Linked DNA regions of Homo sapiens: region 1 is linked to region 2. Evidence: promoter capture Hi-C in 16 types of primary human blood cells and fetal thymus (Javierre and others, 2016). All regions are on one chromosome and are shown on one strand. The core of a region is centred on a gene start or on the middle of the fragment in contact, and the rest is flanking DNA. Distances in the headings are between cores, read along the strand shown. Region 1 holds the start of OR2G3 (olfactory receptor family 2 subfamily G member 3). Region 2 holds the start of OR11L1 (olfactory receptor family 11 subfamily L member 1).

The links. The method cuts DNA at HindIII sites, captures the fragments that hold promoters and counts their contacts. A CHiCAGO score of 5 or more calls a contact.
Region 1: the fragment with the promoter of OR2G3 here is called in contact with the fragment with the promoter of OR11L1 in region 2 in 3 of 17 cell types (naive CD8 T cells, erythroblasts and total B cells); the score reaches 6.5 in naive CD8 T cells.

What each region holds. Positions count from the first base shown.
Region 1 is chr1:247,601,795-247,608,894 of GRCh38, reverse strand. It overlaps OR2G3 (olfactory receptor family 2 subfamily G member 3), which reads right to left and starts at 3,309. Exons shown (of 1, transcript NM_001001914.1): 1 at 2,380-3,309. The coding sequence starts at 3,309. The coding sequence ends at 2,380. All of the region lies in intron 2 of LOC102724446 (a long non-coding RNA gene), which reads left to right. It also overlaps the pseudogene LOC124904709. The HindIII fragment of the contact is 9,716 bases long and covers 1-7,100 here.
Region 2 is chr1:247,836,182-247,843,750 of GRCh38, reverse strand. It overlaps OR11L1 (olfactory receptor family 11 subfamily L member 1), which reads left to right and starts at 1,855. Exons shown (of 1, transcript NM_001001959.1): 1 at 1,855-2,823. The coding sequence starts at 1,855. The coding sequence ends at 2,823. The HindIII fragment of the contact is 3,435 bases long and covers 1,360-4,794 here.

The DNA.
Region 1 (7,100 bases), core at 2,060-4,559, 240 kb after region 2:
TTCATTTATTTCTGCTCTGATCTTTTTATTTCTTTTCTTCTACAGATTTTAGGTTTGGTTTGCTCTTGCTTTTCTAGTTCTTCAAAATGCATCATTAGATTGTTTATTTGAAAGTTTTCCTCTTTTTTGATGTAGGCTTTTATGGATATAAACTTTCCTCTTAGTACTGGTTTTGCTGTATCCCATAGGTTTTGATATGTTGTGTTTTCATTATCATTTATTTCAAGAAACTTTTCAATTTCCATCTTAATTTCTTCATTGATCCACTGGTCATTCAGGAGCATATTATTTAATTTCCATGTGTTTTTATAGTTTCCAAAATTCCTCTTGTTATTAATTTCTAGTTTCATTCCACTGTGGTCAGAGAAGATGCTTGATATTATTTCAATTTTTGGGGTGTTTTAAGACTTGTTTTGTGACCTAACATATGGTCTATCCTTGAGAATGATCCATGTGCTGAGGAAAAGCATGTGTATTCTGCAGCTCTTGGATGAAATGTTCTGTAAATGTCTATTAGGTACATTTGGTCTGTAGTGCAGATTAAGTCCAATGTTTGTTTGTTGATTTTCTGTCTGGAATATCTGTCCAATGCTGAAAGTGGGGTGTTGAAGTCTCCAGCTATTGTTGTATTGGAGCCTACCTATCTCTCTCTTTAACTCTAATAATAGTTGCTTTATATAATCTGTGTGCTTCAATGTCAGGTACATATATGTTTACAATTGTTATATACTCTTGCTGAATTGACCCCTTTGCAACAATATGAATGAACCTGGAGGACATTATGCTAAATAAAAAAGCTAGTCAGAGAAGGGCAAGTAGTGTGTGGTTTCACTTATATTAAATATTTAAAATAGTTACCATCATAGAAGTAGAGAATAGAATGATGGTTACTAGGGGATGAGAGACAAGAACATGGGGAGTTTTTGTTCAATAAGTACAAAGTTTCATTTATGCAAGATGAATAAGTTATAAGAGATCTATTATAAAGCATAGTGCTTATAGTTTACAGTGCAGTATTGTGCACTGAAAAATTTGTTAAAAGTGTTGATCATATGTTGTGTTATAACAAGCACAAATAAGAAGCACAAGGAAACTTCTAGATGTAATGGTTATGTGTATTACTTTGTGGTGATATTTTCAAGGGTGTATGTATATATCATACTCATCAAATTTTTTTTCTTTTTTTTTCTTTTTTTTTTTTTTTTTTTGAGACAGAGTCTCGCTCTGTCGCCCAGGCTGGAGTGCAGTGCGCGATCTTGGCTTACTGAAAGCTCTGCATCCCGGGTTCACGCCATTCTTCTGTCTCAGCCTCCCGAGTAGCTGGGACTACAGGCACCTGCCACCAAGCCCAGCTAATTTTTTTTTATTTTTTTTTTAGTAGAGACGGGGTTTCACCGTGTTAGTCAGGATGGTCTCGATCTCCTGACCTCGTGATCCGCCCGCCTCAGCCTCCCAAAGTGCTGGGATTACAGGTGTGAGCCACCGCGCCTAGCCCATACTCCTCAAATTTTATACATTAAATATGTATATCAATTATACCTCAATGAAGCTGTATTTTTAAAAAAAGAAAATAATAATGTCTTTTGAAGTCCAATTATTCTCATTGATTGAATGTATGAAAAGGTATAGAAGAAAATTATTTGATTATTTTATTCTTTCAAAAGTCTTGTACCTACCATGTATAAAGTGACCTCAGTTCTCACTTCTGCAACTCATATACTAACATTGAAATAATACAGAGAAGATGAGCATGGCTCCTGCACAAGGATAAAGTGGCCTCAGAACACAAAAAGAGATGCACACTCTAAGTTATGAAAAATAATGTGTTTAGCGTATTTTGTTCTTGTTACCCCTTATAAATTCTTAAAATGTATTTGGAACGGTTATTTAAAAATAGCTTATGCAATATCCTACTGACCAATAAATTTGAACTACGAGCACATGCAGGAATTGCTTATTTTCAACATAAAGCTATAATGAAGGACATTACGATGTAAATGTAAAGTGTTTGGCAGGAAACTGAACATTTTATTAAAACTGAAGAAAAGTCTCCTAACCTAGATAAATACATGGTAAATACTTAATAATTTATTTTTCTGAATCCCTGGGAATAAGTATCAGACATAAAATAGAGGCTTTGTGGTGAGGATCACAATTTACAACCATCCACAGCTCTCTTTTCAATAGTTTATGCTCTCAAATAAACATATAAACATTTTACTTAGTTACACATAAAAAAGGAAAAAGTCCCTTATGAAGAGAAAATAAGTGAGCAGTAATATAGTTCATGTGAAATTTAGAACTATGGGTTTGACTAAATAGAAGCTGAATAAGCTACCTGGCTTATAATGAATTCCTTGCAAATCATGTCCATAGGAATCACAATTTTCCCGAGAGAAGTTTCCTCAGAGCCTCTTTCATATCCTTGTTCCTTAAAGTATAGATGATAGGATTTAAAGTGGGGGTCACCATGGTGTAGAAGAGGGAGATAAACTTCCCTTGGTCCTGGGCATAGCTGTCACTAGGTTGCAGGTACACGTAGATTATGGTGCCATAGAATATAATCACCACTGTAAGGTGGGAGGAGCAGGTGCTGAAGGCTTTGTGCCTTGCCTCTACTGATTTGATCCTCAGCACAGCTTGAGTTATGAAGCCATAGGAGATGGAGATGAGTGCTGGTGGAATGACAACAAACAGAACACTAACAACAAAAAGCACCAATTCATTGACAGTGGTGTCCACACAAGCCAACTTGAGAAGAGCTGGTACTTCGCAAATAAAATGGTCCAGCCTATGGTTGCCACAGAGAGGCAATTGCAAGGTAAAAGTTGCATGGATTAGGGAACTAGCCAAACCACTGAGCCAGGAGATAGATGCCAGCTGTTGGCAAAGCCGTGGGTTCATGATGACTACATAGTGGAGGGGTTTGCAGACAGCAATGTACCGATCCAAGGCCATGTCAGCCAAGAGGATACATTCAGTGGAGCCCAGTGCCAGAGAAATATAGAGTTGCGCCACACAACCACCGTAAGTGATCGTCTTCTTTGGTCTTTGCAAGTTAACTAAGGTCTGAGGAGCAAGGCTAGTAGTGAAGCAGATGTCCAGTAAAGAGAGGTTGCTGAGAAAAAAGTACATTGGGGTATGAAGAGGGGGATCCAGATATGAGATGATGATTATGGTGAAGTTTCCCACAAGGGTCAGGAGGTAGAAGAAAAGGACAAATACAAAGAGAACAGCCTCCAGACGAGGGTGGTCTGAGAAGCCTAGAAGGATGAAATCCATTAGGGAACTCTCATTGCCCAATCCCATCCCTCCAGGGGGATCCGCACCTAAGGCAGGAATGGAATGGGTACATCCAAAACAATTAAATTTAGAATAACAGAACACATGAGCTGAGAGGATCATGGAGACCAACTTTCCCAAACTATTCATTTTTCACCCTAAACTATTCATTTTTCACTAATGTGCTGCTGACTTGGAACATCAATCCATGTTTCTTCATTCCAGTTCAAAGGCTCATCTTTAAAAATTATGAATGATTACAACTTTGGAGTTGTCTGGGGATTGATTATTAAAGCCAATCAAAGTGCATATTTACATGCATATCAAAAAATCCACAATGACCTACCACTAAAAATAAATTTCTCTCAAAATACGGTGAACAGTATCTCCCTGATTTTCAACTGTCAATAAATTATCTGCATATGAAATACCTTACTCAGATTTGATTGTAAGCACAATCAGATGGGGAAGACTTTTTAGATAAAACTAATTAAAACAAAGACTTTAAAACCTTTAAAATGGGTATGATTGGTATGAAGGAGATAGAAAATCATTTTTGATATGTGTCACATTGGTACTAACTGGTGGAAAATGAAAAGACATATTTAAGGAACCAAAATATATGATATAAATTCAAATCATCTCATAAAAGTTTATTCAATGATTGAACTGCCAAAAAATAAAAATTAGTTTTAAAATTTTTTATTTATTTAGGCATTATTTAACCAAGTTGGCTAATAGTCCTTACTAGTGAAGAAAAATACATATACTCAAAGGAATATATATAATTATAAGAGTTAAAGATGCATTGCAGTATTCTTATAAATATAAAATTTGTTTGAAGGAACCCTGAGATAAATATATTAAAACTCCCTAACGTTTTGGCCAGATGCTGTGGCTCACCCCTTTAATCCCAGCACTTTGACAGGCTGAGTCACGTGGATCACTTGAGGTCAGGAGTTCGAGACCAGCCTGACCAACTTGGTGAAACCCCATCTGTAATAAAATACAAAAATTAGCCAAGTGTGGTGGTGTACACCTGTAGTCCCAGCTACTCAGGAGGCCGAGACAGGAGAATTGCTTGAACCTGGGAGGTGGACGGTTGCAGTGAGTCAAGATCGCACCACTGCACTCCAGCCTGGGAGACAAAGTGAGTGAGATTCCATCTCAAAAAATAAAAATAAAAATAAATAAAATTCCTTAACTTTCAAAATGTCAAAAACACAAAACAAATTATAAACAAAAATGAAAGTAATTTATGAGACTGTTGAAGAAAACTCAAAGTCATCTGGAGAATGTCGGAAGAGAATGTGTGAATGATTCACTTGTCTTTGTAAGAAGATTCAAAAAGAAATATTTTGCAAATTATGCATCTGACAAAGGACTAATATCCAGAATCTACAAGGAACTCAAGCAAATCAGCAAGAAAAAACAAATAATCCTATCAAAAAGTGGGCAAATGACATGAATAGACATTTCTCAAAAGAAGATATACAAATGACCAACAAACAAATTTTTTAAATGTTTAACATCACTAATAATCAGGGAAATGCAAATTAAAACCACAATGAGATTCTACCCTACCCCAGCCAGAATGGCCACTATTATAAAGTCAAAAAACAATAGATGTTGGCGTGGATGTGGTAAAAAGGGAATGCTTATCCACTGCTGGTGGGAATGTAAATTAGTATAACCTCTATAGAAAACAGTATGGAGATTTTTCAAAAAAACAAAAGTAGATCTAAAATTCAATCCAGCAATCCCACTACTGGGTATCTACCCAAAGGAAAAGAAGTCATTATATCAAAAAGACATGCACATGTGTATGTTTATCGCAGCTCAATTCACAATTGCAAGGATCTGTAACCAACCTAAGTGCCCATAAACCGATGAGAGGATAAAGTAAATGGGTTATACATCATGGAATACTACTAAACCATGAAAAAAATGAAATAATGCCTCTCAGCAACTTGGATGGAGCTGGAGGTCACTATTCTAAGTGAAGTAACTCAGAAATGGCAAATATTGTATGTGCTCACTTACAGGTGGGAGCTAAGCTATGGGTATGCACAGGCACACACAGTGGTATAATGGACATTGGGAACTGAAAAGGTGAGAGAGTGGGAGGGGAGTAGGGGATTTAAAAAACTACATATTAGGTGCAGTGTACACTACTCAGGTGATAGGTGCGCTAAAATCTCAGACTTCACCACTAGGCAGTTCATCCAGGTAACCAAAAACTACTTGTACCCTCAAAGCTATTGAAATTTTAAAATATAGTTTTTTGTTTGTTTTGTTTTTATTTCTTTACTTATTCATTTATTTTTAATCGACAAATTAAAATTGTATATAATGATCATGTACAACAAGATAAATACTGTTTTTTAAAAAAATATAGTTTTTTTCTGGGCCTTTTTCACATAATATGCTCCAAAATATGAGGTAGGTAGTAGTGTTCTAATTCTACAGATGAAAAATGTTTAAAATACGTGCCCCAAATTACTCAATTTTAAGTTTATGGGGCTGGATAAAGCCCAACCCAGAGTTAGGCTTAATATTTCCCTAAAGGCAGCTCATATACTTGACTCCATAAGCACCTTTGGCACCTAGGACACGTGTATTTAATTTTCTTGTGCAAAAGGGTAAATGGAGTTACCTGTGGCCACTCCAACTGTCTTTCCACCACTTCAGCCAGCTAAAGTTACTGCTGTGTCCTCAGGACCTATCAAAGGGCCTGACCCACAGCTGGGCTCAGTGAATACTATGGAATGAATGAGTCAGTATTTAATCAAAAGCTGATCACATAATACCACTATTATTATGGATTTTTTTATTATTCTTTAAGTTCTAGGGTACATGTGCACAAAGTGCAGGTTTGTTACATAGGTATACATGTGCCATGTTGGTTTGCTGCACCTATCAACTCGTCATTTACATTAGGTATTTCTCCTAACGCTATCCCTCCCCCAGTCCCCCATCCCACAACAGGCCCCTGTGTGTGATGTTCCCTTCTCTGTGTCCATGTGTTCTCATTGTTCAATTCCCACTTATGAGTGAGAACATGCGGTGTTTGGTTTTCTGACCTTGTGATAGTTTGCTGAGAATGATGGTTTCCAGCTTCATCCATGTCCCTGCAAAGGACATGAACTCATCCTTTTTTATAGCTGCTTAGTATTCTATGGTGTATATGTGCCACAATTTTTTTATCCAGTCTATTGTTGATGGACATTTGGGTTGGTTCCAAGTGTGAGTAGTGCCACAATAAACATACGTGTGCATGTGTCTTTATAGTAGCATGATTTATAATCCTCAAAACTTGTACCCTCAAAGCTATTGAAATTTTAAAACAGTTTTTTGTTTGTTTTGTTCTTATTTCTTTACTTACTTTGTTTTTATTTCTTTATTCATTTATTTTTAACTGACAAATTAAAATTGTATATATTTATCATGTACAACACGATAAATACTGTTTTATTTAAGTATAGTTTTTTTTTAAAAAAGATTCAAAAAGGTGAGTGCTGAAGGTATGCTTAGAAAATAAAATACTTGGAGTCAAACTGTAGAAATCACTGGGTGAAATAAAGTTCTTAGCTTTGCTGTGCAGGCAGTAAGATGTTGTTAAAGGCTCTGAGCACACAAGAGAGTAATATTTTCTGTTTCCATTTTGGAAATATTGGTGCATTGATAGGAAGATGGGTAGGGAAGATATTGATGTGAGGGAGTTCAGGTAGGGATAGTTCAATAGTTCTCATGATATTAACTAGGTTCGTGTCATGTGAATAGCCTGAGAATTACCAAAATGACAACATTAACTGAAT
Region 2 (7,569 bases), core at 606-3,105:
ATCTGGGTTAAGATAGGGGGGTTGGGGAAACCAAGGTTCTTATGATGTAGATGAAGTCTCATATGTTGCCAGCCTGAGAAGCAGCAGATGGGAAAAATGTTCTATTGAGACCTTTAAAAGGTGCTAGACTTTCAGCTAATCTCTTGAGGATCAGACAAAGGCCTGGAGAGGGAAAGGGATTCTCCGCAGAATGTAGATTTCCCCCACAAGAGACAGCTTTGCAGGGCCATTTTAAATATGACAAATAAATATATTTTGTGGTAAAATATTTCCATTTCCTTCAGGGTCGGCTGTCTGTCATGATGCTATACTAGAGTCAGGTTAGAATTTGGTAGCTTATTTCTACAGAGTCTGTTTCGTCAGCCTTAAAATCTCTTTTTTGATGTTATTGCTGCTCAGTTATGCCTGAATTCTGAAGAAAGGAGAGTGTAATGAGGTTTGTCCAACCCCCTCTTCCCATCATGATCTGAACCAGAATTTTTAGGTTTCTTTGAAATCCCCTTGGCTGAAAGGAGGAGTCCGCTCAGTCAGTTGTGGGGTTTAGAATTTTATTTTTGGTTTATAAGGGAAATACAGAATGATTGCTCTCCAGCAGTAAGGGCACACTGAGTTTGTTGGTTGTACATTTTAAAGAGGTTCTATTCTTGCTTGTCTCACTCCCTCAACTTCACAGAAGCTCCTGTATGGCAGGTGGATGTTTACTTTATCCAGAACTATAGACAATGAATTAAATGAAAGAATAAAAGGTGTACACGAGGGTGTAATTATAGTGGCTGAGCATGAGTATGGTATCGGATGAGGCAAGAAAGGACACCAGTGGAGTGAGGCAGATTAGTTCAGCACAGGCCTTCACACACACACACACACACACAAACACACACACACAAACACACACACACAGCAGGGACTAATAAATATTGTTTGAGGGTGGAATATATACACTTTCCCAAGATGGCATAGGAGATGTGCTGTGTCTGGCTTCTTTTTCAGACAAAGCCCACAGATGAGAAGGGAAAGGCATTTGCTTCCACATGTGCATGATTTTTTTTTTTTTTTTGAGACGGAGTCTCGCCCTGTCACCCAGGCTGGAATGCAGTGGTGCGATCTTGGCTCACTGCAATCTCCGCCTCCCGGATTCAAGCGATTCTCCAGCCCCAGCCTCCCACGTAGCTGGGATTACAGGCAGGCACCACTACACCCAGCTAATTTTTGTATTTTTAGTAGAGACGGGGTTTCACTGTGTTGCTCAGGCTGGTCTCGAACTCTTGACCTCGTGATACGCCCGCCTCGGCCTTCCAAAGTGCTGGTATTACAGGCGTGAGCCACTGCGCCCGGCCGTGCAGGATTTTTTTTAAAGCTTTGTTGTTATTGTTAGTTTTCTGAGTTTTTGTCCAGCTTTATTGAGGTGTAGTTGATAATTATTGTATACTATATATTTACAGTGTACAACTTTGTTCTCGTAGATGTATTCATTGTGAAATAATCATCACAATCAATCCAATTAACATATTCATCACCTCAATTTTTCTTTTTTGTATGGTGAGAACACTGAAGATCTACTAATAAGAGTCCTTTTTTGCCTGTCTTTGGAAGGAGACTTCAAGATTTCAGAGAACCCAGATGAATGAAACTTGCTGAGTCTCCTTACAAGATCTAATATTCACATTCAGCTTAAGATTTCAAAATGTATTCTTACGAAAGAGATATGGAATTATGCATTTATCCTTCTAAAAAGCTGTGCATACAGATCTAAACTATTTAAAAATTAATCTCTGAAGTTCCAAGCATCACCAGTGATAAATTTGCGCCTTGCATCCTGTGCTTTTCCAGAATGTTTTTCATCCCCCACAGGCAATGGAGCCCCAAAATACCTCCACTGTGACTAACTTTCAGCTGTTAGGATTCCAGAACCTTCTTGAATGGCAGGCCCTGCTCTTTGTCATTTTCCTGCTCATCTACTGCCTGACCATTATAGGGAATGTTGTCATCATCACCGTGGTGAGCCAGGGCCTGCGACTGCACTCCCCTATGTACATGTTCCTCCAGCATCTCTCCTTTCTGGAGGTCTGGTACACGTCCACCACTGTGCCCCTTCTCCTAGCCAACCTGCTGTCCTGGGGCCAAGCCATCTCCTTCTCTGCCTGCATGGCACAGCTCTACTTCTTCGTATTCCTCGGCGCCACCGAGTGCTTTCTCCTGGCCTTCATGGCCTATGACCGTTACCTGGCCATCTGCAGCCCACTCCGCTACCCCTTCCTCATGCATCGTGGGCTCTGTGCCAGGTTGGTGGTGGTCTCCTGGTGCACAGGGGTCAGCACAGGCTTTCTGCCTTCCCTGATGATTTCCAGGTTGGACTTCTGTGGGCGCAATCAGATTAACCATTTCTTCTGCGACCTCCCGCCACTCATGCAGCTCTCCTGTTCCAGAGTTTATATCACCGAGGTGACCATCTTCATCCTGTCAATTGCCGTGCTGTGCATTTGTTTTTTTCTGACACTGGGGCCCTATGTTTTCATTGTGTCCTCCATATTGAGAATCCCTTCCACCTCTGGCCGGAGAAAGACCTTTTCCACATGTGGCTCCCACCTGGCTGTTGTCACTCTCTACTACGGGACCATGATCTCCATGTATGTGTGTCCCAGTCCCCACCTGTTGCCTGAAATCAACAAGATCATTTCTGTCTTCTACACTGTGGTCACACCACTGCTGAACCCAGTTATCTACAGCTTGAGGAACAAAGACTTCAAAGAAGCTGTTAGAAAGGTCATGAGAAGGAAATGTGGTATTCTATGGAGTACAAGTAAAAGGAAGTTCCTTTATTAGGTAAAGAAAATTGCACAGAACATGCAGTGGATTAAATTCAGGGTTAAGTGAATGGTAGATTCAGACCTTTAAACCTGAAGATCATTGTCAGAACTGCATTGAATTCTGTAGGCCACAAAACAACAGCTTTTTGAGGGTTCCTCACTAGCAACTGGTCAGAAGATAAACTGCCTCCATCAAACCATTTTGAGGTCAGTTTTGTCCTAGACACTTTCTAACATCTTGTTAGGAAAATCTGATTGAATTCCAGTGGATGGTGATTACACACACATTACTTTCACATTCTACAATAAGATTTCCCTTTGTTTACATAACCTTATGTACAGAAAGCTCTGCATCTTTTAAGTACTCTTAGTAGACTGGCCTTGTGGACCTAAAACCTGGTGGGTGCCATTGGTGCTTATTAAATAGCAGTAGAAAGAATAAATAAAAAAAAGAAGACATTTAAAATGTTTGTTGACCTACATTATCTCCTAAAGATAAGAAAGAAGTAAGGCCTTTGAAGTGCCAAATATTCATCTACAAGACCTTAGATGTTTTAGTGTTTTTTGTTTAATGAAATTGTGGGAAGGAAGGGAGGGAGGGAGGGAGGGAGGAAAGGAGGGAAGGGAGGGAGGGAGGAAGGAGAAGATCCTCAGTATTCTGTGCTACTGTGAGTCCTGAGAGTCAGAGGATGTCACTAAAATGTTTAAATCACTTTTTATTTTCTTGAGACAGAGTCTCACTCTGTCGCCCAGGCTGGAGTGCAATGGCACGATTTTGGCTCACTGCAACCTCCACCTCCCAGGTTCAAGCGATTCTCCTGCTTCAGCCTCCTGAGTAGCTGGGAATACAGGCATGCACCACCAGGCCCAGCTAATTTTTGTATTTTTTTTTTTTTTAGTAGAGATAGAGTTTCACCCTGTTGGTCAGGCAGGTCTTGAACTCCTGACCTCAAGCTCCACCCGCCTCGGCCTCTCAAAGTGCTGGGATTACAGGGGTGAGCCACCGCGCCCAGGCTCTTAAATCACTTTTATAGTTTATTTTATTCAGCCAGTTTAGAAGATCTCTACAAATCCTGCCCATTGTTTGATTCATTAATTCTACAAATATTTTTAATCTCATGAAGCATGCCACGTCCTGTGCCACAGTCTGAATTTCCCGGAAAGACAATGACATAGAAAGGACCAAGCAAGCCAGGCACAGTGGCTCACGCCTGTAATTCCAGCACTTTGGGAGGCCAAGGTGGGCGGTCACCTGAGGTCGGGAGTTCGAGACCAGCCTGGCCAACATGGAAAAACCCCGTCTCTACTAAAAATACAAAATTAGCCGGGCAAGGGGCATGCCTGTTATCCCAGCTACTAGGGAGGCTGAGGCAGCAGAATCACTTGAACCCAGGAGGCAGAGGTTGCTGTGAGCTGAGATCATGCCATTGCACTCCAGCCTGGGCAACAAGAATGAAACTCCATCTCAAAAAAAAAAAAAAAAAGAAAAAAGAAAGAAAGGGCCAAGCAAGACTTTACCTTAATAGACCTTCCAATGCAGAAGGGAGGAGAAAAATGTAACAAATCATAAAGCAATGATTGATTTATTTCTACTTGTGATGATCACTATGAAATAATAAAGTGAGGCCGGGCGCAGTAGCTCACCCCTGTAATCCCAGAACTTTGGGAGGCCGAGGCGGGCGGATCATGAGGTCAGGAGATCGAGACCATCCTGGCTAACACAGTGAAACCCCATCTCTACTAAAAATACAAAAAATTAGCCAGGTGTGGTGGCGGGTGCCTGTAGTCCCAGCTACTCGGGAGGCTGAGGCAGGAGAATGGCGTGAACCCGGGAGGCGCAGCTTGCAGTGAGCCGAGATTGCACCACTGCACTCCAGCCTGGGTGACAGAGCGAGACTCCATCCCAAAGAAAAGAAATAATAAAGTGCAAGCTGGAGCATGAACACAGGACGACAAGTCTGAGTCAACATACATGATTAGGGAAGCTTTCTATGTTATGTAGCACTTCACCTACGCTTCAAGAGTGAGGAGAACAAGAGTGGAGAGTAGTCCAGCTAGGGCATGGCAGAAGAAGGCTGAGGAACTGGGGAGATAGAGGAAGGAGCTCAGTCTGGAGAGAATGGTAGGGGCTAATCCATCTCTGTCATTAAAAACCTCATAGGGTTTTCAGATCTTGCACTAAGGGAAATGATTATCAAAACATACTAATTAGGGAATGACATGATATATTTTGCATGTGTGAATTCCATTGCTGTGTAGAGAAAAGACTAAAAGAGAGCAAGAGCTGTTGGGGTCATTGCAGTAGCCCATGCAGGAGCGGAAGTTGGTTTGATTTTAGGTTTCATGATGTAATCCATCACAGGAAGTACCTCATGGATGGTGAGGTTGGGAGTACCTGTTCCGGTCTCACTCGTTCCAGTGCAGTGGTCCCTGAGCCTCAGGGTTCAATGCACTTTCACCCTCTAGCTCATGTAATTTCCCCCACCACGTGTCCTTGGGTTCTTTCACCTGCCTTTTTCTAGCCCTCACATTTTCTCTCCTTTCTGGGATTTGACCTGTGAGAAATGTCCTCAGTCCTTTTTTGATTCATCTGGTTCAAATATTGGGTAGAAGGAAAGTGATGCATTAGAATCTCAGATCAGGAAATGGGTGCAGTAGGGAGAGAAGTCTCATTGGTTTCAGCTTTTCGGTAGAGTACCCAAACGATCAATATCTTACCTTGCAGATGGTCATCTCTGATTAGTATATTAGCTGTGCCTTATGTTTAACTGGACTTATGTTACTCTACCAAAAGCTTTTTCTAACGTGTTAAATTTGGTGGTGCAGGGCTCTGCATACGGAGAGTAAAAAATTATTGATCCACATATTAGGGACAGTAAGAAATTACACCAAAAGAACATTTGGATGTATGGATCTGGAGCTCAGAGGAGGGGCCTGGCCGAAAGTTAAAAATTTGGAAGTTTTTAACATATAGATGATATTTGAAAATATGGAAACAAATTCGATTTTTTCAGGAAGAGTGCAAACCAATATAATAAGAGAGTGAAGAACAGAGCACAAAAGAATTTTAAAACATTAAATTTAATTGAAGGAAAAGAAACCCCAAAAGGAGCTGGCAGGAATGACCACAGAAGCTGGGGGCACTTGTGAGGTGGCTGCATTTCTCTAAGAGGTGAGAGTGTTGTGAGAAGGAAGAGGCACAGAGGTTGGGGGGCACTTATGAGGTGGCTGCATTTCTCTAAGGGGTGAGAGTGTTGGGGGAAGGAAGAGGCAGTCAACATGGAAGATGAGGATTAAAGGGTTATCATCAAACTTCTCATCACAGACTTCAGTGTTGTTCCCGGGAAGGGCAGCATGATTGGCATCGGGGTAGTGCACATCAGACTAGTGGCAATGGGGCAGGAATGACTTGTAAAACAATGGAAGCAATTGTGTGTGAAACAGTTATCCTGAGACATGTAATTCTTCTTCTTCTTCTTTTTTTTTTTTTTTTTTTTTTTTGAGAAGGAGTTTTGCTCTTGTTGTCCAGGCTGGAGTACAATGGTGTGATCTCGGCTCACCATAACCTCCGCTTACCGGGTTCAAGCGATTCTCCTGCCTCAGTCTCCCCAGTAGCTGGGATTACAGGGGGGCGCCAATACGCCTGGCTAATTTGTTGTATTTTTAGTAGAGACAGGGTTTCTCCATGTTGGTCAGGCTGGTCTCGAACTCCCGACCTCAGGTGATCAGCCCGCCTCGGCCTCCCAAAGTGCCGAGATTACAGGGGTGAGCCACCGTGCCCGGCCATGAGACACATAATTTTGAAAGGTTGAAAGAAAAAATTGTGTTGGAGGGGCAGTTGTACTTTTGTAAGATGTTAGCATCTAAGTAAGTTTGAACACTTATGGGAAAGGTCCATAGTGATAAAAAATAAATCAGAGGAATCAATATAGAAAGTGATGACTGATAGCCTGAGATAAAACAAGAAGGCATCTTGTTCAAATGTGGAAATACCAACATTCAGTACGGGAAGTGTTTTCTTTAGTGTAGGAGGCAGAAAGGAGAGGATCATCGTAGTCTTATGAGGATTTAAAGAAATGGAGATAGGGCCAGGCTCAATGGCTCGCATCTTTAATCCTAGCACTTTGGGAGCCAAGGCGGGAATATGGTTGAGCCCAGGAATTGGAGACTAGCCTGGGCAACAAAGAATGACTATGTGTCTACCAAAAATAGTAAAAATTATCTGATCATGGTGGCATGTGCCTGTAATGCTAGTTACTCAGAAGGCTGAAGCAGGAGGATCACTTGAACCCAGTAGGTAGAGGCTGCAGTGAGCCATGACTGTGCCACTGCACTCTACCCTGGGCAACAGAGTGAGACCCTGTCTCAAATAAAAAAGGAAAGAAATGGAAATGGCACTTGTACAATTTCCCACCTGAGGAGTTACATGACACATTTTCGTGACAAGGCCAATTGTTCTTATTTACCATAGACAGTGTAGGTCAGGATTTGAAGAAAGTGGCAAAGGCATTCCATACTCATCTTGCAGAGTGAGACTGACAGCTGACTGAAGACACAGAGGTGGACTTGCGAGCAAAAATGAAAGCTTAGTTGAAATAGGGTATGATTGATTTATTGTAATACTAGCTTGCCTGTGTACTTTTATCTCTTTTTTTTTTTTTTTTTTTTTTTTTTTGAGACGGAGTCTTGTTCTGTTGCCCAGGCTGGAGTGCAGTGGTGCAATCTCGGCTCACTGCAACCTCCGCCTCCTGGGTTCATTCTC